Linked DNA regions of Homo sapiens: region 1 is linked to region 2. Evidence: promoter capture Hi-C in human tissues and cell types (Jung and others, 2019). All regions are on one chromosome and are shown on one strand. Each heading gives the region's core, a stretch centred on a gene start or on the middle of the fragment in contact. The rest is flanking DNA. Distances are from core to core; before and after follow the strand shown. Region 1 overlaps SDHC (succinate dehydrogenase complex subunit C). Region 2 holds the start of FCER1G (Fc epsilon receptor Ig).

What was found. Contacts are between HindIII fragments. The study calls those that stand out against the background at their distance.
Region 1: a fragment that was not itself captured here is called in contact with the fragment with the promoter of FCER1G in region 2 in 4 of the 25 tissues and cell types used here (H1 embryonic stem cells, bladder, lymphoblastoid cells and 1 more).

What each region holds. Positions count from the first base shown.
Region 1 is chr1:161,346,771-161,351,151 of GRCh38, forward strand. All of the region lies in intron 4 of SDHC (succinate dehydrogenase complex subunit C), which reads left to right. Among named protein-coding and RNA genes, the nearest start is that of CFAP126, 19 kb to the right of the region's middle. The HindIII fragment of the contact is 5,263 bases long and covers 1-3,887 here.
Region 2 is chr1:161,214,045-161,216,544 of GRCh38, forward strand. It overlaps FCER1G (Fc epsilon receptor Ig), which reads left to right and starts at 1,251. Exons shown (of 5, transcript NM_004106.2): 1 at 1,251-1,326. The coding sequence starts at 1,278. It overlaps NDUFS2 (NADH:ubiquinone oxidoreductase core subunit S2), which reads left to right. Exons shown (of 14, transcript NM_001377299.1): 14 at 112-351. The coding sequence ends at 149. The HindIII fragment of the contact is 8,503 bases long and covers 1-2,500 here.

The DNA of each region.
Region 1 (4,381 bases), core at 6-2,505, 130 kb after region 2:
TTGGAGATTGGTTCCAGGATTCCTCCTCAGATACCAAAATCTACAGATACTCAAGTCCCTTATATAAAAGGATGTGGTATTTGGATATATCCTATGTACATCATATACTTAAAATTATCTCTAGATTACTTATAATACCTAATACAATGTAAACGCTATGTAAATAGTTATATTGTTTATGGAATAATAACAAGAAAAAAAAAGTGTACGTTTTCAGTACAGATAAAACCATTCATTTCCCCCACCCAATATTTTCAATCCACAGTTAGTTGTATATCCACAGATGCAGAATCCATGGATGCAGAACTCAGGACACAGAGTTGACAGCACTCTGAGGGAGTTAGAAGGCTTGAAAGAAGTGTGAACAGGAGAGTTTGTGAAGAGGAGGTAGAGGAGGGCATTCCAACAGAGAAATTCCTTTATGGAAAGGCATAGGGATTGGAAATCTCCCGGATCATTGGATGATTATGACGAGGTCTGTTTCTTTTTTTCCTTTTTTTTTGAGATGGAGTCTCGCTCTGTCGGCCAGGCTGGAGTGCAGTGGCACGATCTCGGCTCACTGCAACCTCCGCCTGCCAGGTTAGAGAAATTTTCTTCCTCAGCCTTCCGAGTAGCTGGGATTACAGGCACCTGCCACCATGCCAAACTAATTTTTTTTGTATTTTTAGTAGAGTTGGGGTTTCAACATCTTGGCCAGGCTGGTCTTGAACTCCTGACCTCGTGATCCACCTACCTCGGCCTCCTGAAGTGTTGGGATTACAGGCATGAGCCACCACACCCGGCTGAGGTCTGTTTCTTAAGAATGGTGTTTATGGGGCCAGGCGCGGTGGCTCACACCTGTAATCCCAGCACTTTGGGAGGCCGAGGCAGGTGGATCACAAGGTCAAGAGATCAAGACCATCCTGGCCAACATGGTGAAACCCCATCTCTACTAAAAATACAAAAATTAGCTGGGCATGGTGGCATGTGCCTGTAGTCCCAGATACTTGGGAGGCTGAGGCAGGAGAATTGCTTGAACCCAGGAGGCGGAGGTTGCAGTGAGCCGAGATCACGCCACTGCACTCCAGCCTGGCAACAGAGTGACACTCTGTCTCAAAAAATAAAAAAAGAATGATGTTTATGGGAGAAGTGACAGAAGATAAGGCTAGAAAGTGGGCCAAATGGTGAAGGACTTTGACTGCCATGCTGTAGACCATGAAAAGCCATTAAAAGTTCATGTGCTCTTTTGTTCCAGTAACAGGACAAGCTGGCCTCCTGGATAAATACAAAATAAGTTATTTATTTTAACTATAGAGATTTTATGGCTAATATATAAATTTTAAAAAGCATGTTAACACTAGTTTGACTTTAAAATAGAATTTATTAAAAAGAAACTTGACAATTTTTGTTTGTTTGTTTTTTTTTGAGATGGAGTCTTGCCCTGTCGCCCAGGCTGGAGTGCAATGGTGCCATCGTGGCCCACTGCACTTCTGTCTCCTCCTGGGTTCAAGCAATTCTCCTGCTTCAGCCTCCCAGGTAGCTGGGACTACAGGCATGTGTCACCATGCCTGGCTAATTTTTGTATTTTTAGTAGAGACGGGATTTCACCATGTTGGCCAGGCTGGTCTTGAACTCCTTACCTCAAGTGATCCGCCTGCCTCTGCCTCCCAAAGTACTGGGATTACAGGCATGAGCTACTGCGCCTGGCCTGCAATGTTTTGAAAGGTTGAAAGAGGAGACTAATAGCACTCTTATATTGCTTAGGATCCATAAAGATTAAAATACTCAGGGCTGGGTGCGGTAGCTCATGGCTGTAATCCCAGCACTTTGGGAGGCTGAGGCGGGTGGATCACCTGAGATCAGGAGTTTGAGACCAGCCTGGCCAACATAGTGAAACCCCATCTCTACTAAAAATCCAAAAAAAAAAAAAAAAAAAAATTAGCCAGTTGTGGGTGGCGCATGGCTATAATCCCAGTTACTTGGGAGACTGAGCCAGGAGAATGAATTGAACCTGGAAGGCAGAGGTTGCAGTGAGCTAGGATCGCACCAGTGCACTCCAGCCTGGGTGACAGAGCGAGACTCTGTCTCAAAAATAAATAAATAAAAATACTCAGGATTTTTCATAGTGACAGAAAAAGTCTATTTGACTTTTTCCTATAAAAGTCTAGTTGAATTTAGGTACATGCCTTGAGAATGGCAGATAGCTGAAGTTGCAATAATGAATGAGTCTAGGAAATCATAAATAACAAGATAAAACATACAACATAAAGCATGAGATTAGGAAGAGAGAATAAAGATACTAAACAACAGATATTTTAAGCTTTGAACCAATATATACAGATATTCATGTATCTGTATATGAATTGTACAATTAGCTTGAATGGATATAAGAATGGTCCTGCATGTTTTGGGTAGTCTTTAAAAACAGTCAGGCCAGGTGCTGTGGCTCACGCTTGTAAACCCCGCACTTTGAGAGGCCAAGGCAGGTGGATTGCTTAAGACCAGGAGTTTGAGAACAGCCTGGCTAACATGGCGAAATCCCATCTCTACTAAAAATATAAAAAATTAGCTGGGTGTAGGTGGCACATTCCTGTAACGTGGGCTACTTGGGAGACTGAAGCACGAGAATCGCTTGAACCCAGGAGGCAGAGGTTGCAGTGAGCCGAGATCATGCCACTGCACTCTAGCCTGGGTGACAGCGAGACTTTATCTCAAAAATAAAAATAAATAAAAATAAAAAATAAAATAAAAACAGGGTCAGATGGAAGAATCAGAACTTTTGTGAGAGATTGCCTGAATTTGTAGGCAAACCTGCTGCTCAGGCAGGTAGCCTATTCTCTAGAAAAGCCAAAAGATTTACAGATTCATAAAGTAACTGATGGGCTTTGAAAATGACTGTGTTTTTCTTCTGTCATGAGATGGGATATTAGTTATTGATTCTTAAATATCATCTGTTATACTTTAGAAATCCTGGTTATTCCAGACTGAGTGTAGAAAAAGTGAAAAAAGTGCACTTTGGAATGAGACAGATCTGAGTTCAATTCTAACTCTGTCACTAACTGTGAGACCTTACCTTGAAAAAGTTATTTGTCACCACACCTGCCACCAAGCCTCAGTATTTTTGTCCACAAATTTGGATAATACCTTTTTTTTCTCTTTAGTTTAAAAAAATTTTTTTGAGACCAAGTTTCGCTCTTGTCTCCCAGGCTGGAGTGCAGTGACATAATCTCGGCTCACTGCAACCTCCACCTCCTGGGTTCAAGTGATTCTCCTGCCTCAGCTTTCCCAGTAGCTAGGATTACAGGCACGCGTCACCATGCCTGGTTAATTTTGTATTTTTAGTAGAGACGGGGTTTCACCATGTTGGCCAGGCTAGTCTTGAACTCCTGACTACAGGTGATCCACCTGCCTTGGCCTCCCAAAGTGCTAGGTTTACAAGGGTGATCCATGTACCCGGCCTCGTTTTTAAACAATTTTTTAAAAATGGAGATGAGGTTTCACAGTGTTGCCCAGGCTGGTCTCAACTCCTGAGCTCAAGTGATCCGCCTACCTTGGCCTCCCAAAGTGCTGGGATTACAGGCGTGAGCCACCATGCTCAGCCTGGATAATACCTTTTTGCTGTGTATGGGGGCAACAGTTAGAATTTAGAGACCTTAAAACTAGTATAAATTCTTTCACAGTGGATATGATTTGCTCTCCATTTGAGAAAAAGTTTATGCATGTCACTGAGTAATGTAGTGTAGCTTAAAACATCAACAAAAGTTCCAGACTCATAAAAACATATGCATTAAATATGTACAATTTTTTCATGTTTCAATTATACCCAATAAAGGTATTTTTTAAAAAAAATCAAAGATAGCCCAAATGTGTTAGAGACATAAGACCGGAATGTGATTGAAATTAAGTAAGGCAATAATTCAGTTGGTAGTATTATATTCTTTCTCAGGATACAAACTGGCAGCCTGTGGGCCATGTTTGGTCAACAGATGTACTTTGTTTCTTTGTGCTGTGATGAAAAGAAATGGAATTTGAGTGCATTTAGGTGGAACATACATACTTCCCCTTTCCAACAGTTTTCTATGAGCACCACTAGTCTATATGGCCTTAATTGCCTTATACTCTGCTTGATTCACACATCCGTTTGGCTCCTTAGGCATTTGGGTTTGACCTGCCTCTTGGGAGGGGCAAAGAATGAGATGAGTGGTGGTGACAGTAAGAGGGAAATGGGTAATCAGAAACAAAAAAGGAAAAAAGAGAAGGCCAAGGAACCAAATATTCAGTGTTTATTCTCTAGAGTCCAAAGGAGAGAGGCATTGAACCTGGAAGGCACAAATTATCCAGTCAGTGGAGAAGTGTGTGTGGTGCACGTGTGATTCCGGTTTATCCAGCCTCAACTTGGCCT
Region 2 (2,500 bases), core at 1-2,500:
TTGAGCACAGTAATGGGTTCTGGATCTTGGGTAACACCACTTTTTTTGTTTGTTTTGCCTCACAACAGGAAGATAAGTAACATCACTTTTTTCCTCCATCCTCTCACCTAGGTACCCAAGATATTGTATTTGGAGAAGTAGATCGGTGAGCAGGGGAGCAGCGTTTGATCCCCCCTGCCTATCAGCTTCTTCTGTGGAGCCTGTTCCTCACTGGAAATTGGCCTCTGTGTGTGTGTGTGTGTGTGTGTGTGTGTGTATGTTCATGTACACTTGGCTGTCAGGCTTTCTGTGCATGTACTAAAAAAGGAGAAATTATAATAAATTAGCCGTCTTGCGGCCCCTAGGCCTAAACTTCTGGTATCTTAGTGTCTCAGTATCTTAGTGTCCTTCACTCGGACTGTAAACCTAAGAATGTTCATTAACCCTCCATTCCTGTTAGATTCAGTCAGGTCTTAGCAATTTTTCCTGCTCGTCTCCACCCCCTTCTCTGACTCTTGTCCTTTCCACTTCTCTATTCCCCATTTCCTCTTTCGCCTCAGTTCCCTCCTTGCCCAAACCTTCTCAGTGCCCACATAACTTGGTAAACCACTCAAATCAAGACCTGGGGTAAAGTTGGGAGGGAAAGGGCTATAGTGGGGTCTGAGGGAATGTTGACGGGCAGTTTCACACAGATAAATCTCTGAACCAGCCGGGCGCAGTGCCTCACGCCTGTAATCCCAGCACTTTGGGAGGCCGAGGCGGATGGATCACCTGAGATCAGGAGTTCAAGACCAGCCTGATCAACATGGAGAAACCCCATCTCTACTAAAAATACAAAATTAGCCGGGCGTGGTGGTGCATGCCTGTAATGCCAGCTACTCGGGAGGCTGAGAGAATCGCTTGAACCTGGGAGGCGGAGGTTGCGGTGAGCCGAGATGGCGCCATTGCACTCCAGCCTGGGCAACAAAGCAAGAGTCCGTCTCAAAAAAAAAAAAAAAAAAAAAAATCTGAACCAGGTGGAGTGGAAAATGGCAGATGTAGACAGCCTTTCCTGAGCGTGAAAGTCTCCTCATTCTGTGGGTTAGGAGTTGGTCATTGAAGGGCTGACGCTTAAGAGCCCAGATCTCCCAACTCCCTTAGTTGGCCCTTCCGGGAGCCGCCCGGTCTCTTGTGCAGGAAGGGGAAGGGGCCAAAGCATGGGGGAAGGCGTGGCAGGAAGAGGGGGACTCTGTGGTCAGGGAACTGCTCGCTGAGCACAGCTGCACAGTGCTGTCAGAACGGCCGATCTCCAGCCCAAGATGATTCCAGCAGTGGTCTTGCTCTTACTCCTTTTGGTTGAACAAGCAGGTAAGAGGGTTTGGTGAGGGATAGCGTGAGCTGGCTCCAGGGTGGAAGTCCAGAGCTTGGGTCTGAGGGCCAAGTCAAACACAGGTGAAGGAAGGCTGACAGTGGGTAGGTGGGCATAGGGAGACCCTGAGGCTAGTCCTCTCCAGCCCCGACCCAGGGCACTAGACTCATAGTTCCCTCCTTTCTTGTTGCCTTCTTACTTCATTCCAGACTTTTCTCCGTATTATTATTATTATTTTGGAGATGGAGTCTTGCTCTGTCACCCAGGCTGGAGTGCAGTGGCGCAATCTCTACTCACTGCAACCTCTGCCTCCTGGGTTCAAGCGATTCTCCTGCCTCAGGCTCCCGAGTAGCTGGGACTACAGGTGCCCGCCACCACGCCCGGCTAAGTTAAGTATTTTTGGTAGAAACCGGGTTTCGTCATGTTGACCAGGGTAGTCTTGAACTCCTGACTCAAGTGATCCACCCACCTCGACCTCCCAAAGTGCTGGGATTACTGGTGTGAGCCACTGCACCCAGCTATTATTATTATTAAAAAAAGACAGGGTCTTACTATGTTGGCCACATCGGTCTTGAACTCCTGGCCTCAAGCAATTCTCCCACCTCGGCCTCCCAAAGTGCTACTGTGCCTGGCTGACTTTTCTCTTTTCAGGGTTGATAGAAAGTGGCAGGGGAAGGGTCTGGTTGTATGGCATGAAGAGCTGGTCTGGTGAAAAGCCTCATTTCTCATGATGAGCATTTCCCATGGGGTGCCTTTGGTCTTGTCTGCTGGGAGCTGATCTCTAGCTGGTTTAATATACAAAGCACCCTTGGTGCCTATAATTCCAGCTACTCAGAAGGCTGAGGCAGGAGAATCACTTGAACCCAGGAGGTGGAGGTTGCAGTGAGCCAAGATCGCACCACTGCACTCTAGCCTGGGGGACAGAGTGAGACTCCGTCTCAAAAAAAAAAAAAAGATTTTACATATATATCTCTATCTATCTATCTATATACACACACACACACATACACACACACACACACACACACACACACACACACATATATATATATATATAGAGAGAGAGAGAGAGAGAGAGATAACCCTTTAGGAAGGTAGGACTCTGTTCTTGTGCTTGGGAGTAAGGCAAGGATATAGCCAAGACAAACAGACGGGATTGCTGTTTCTATGGGT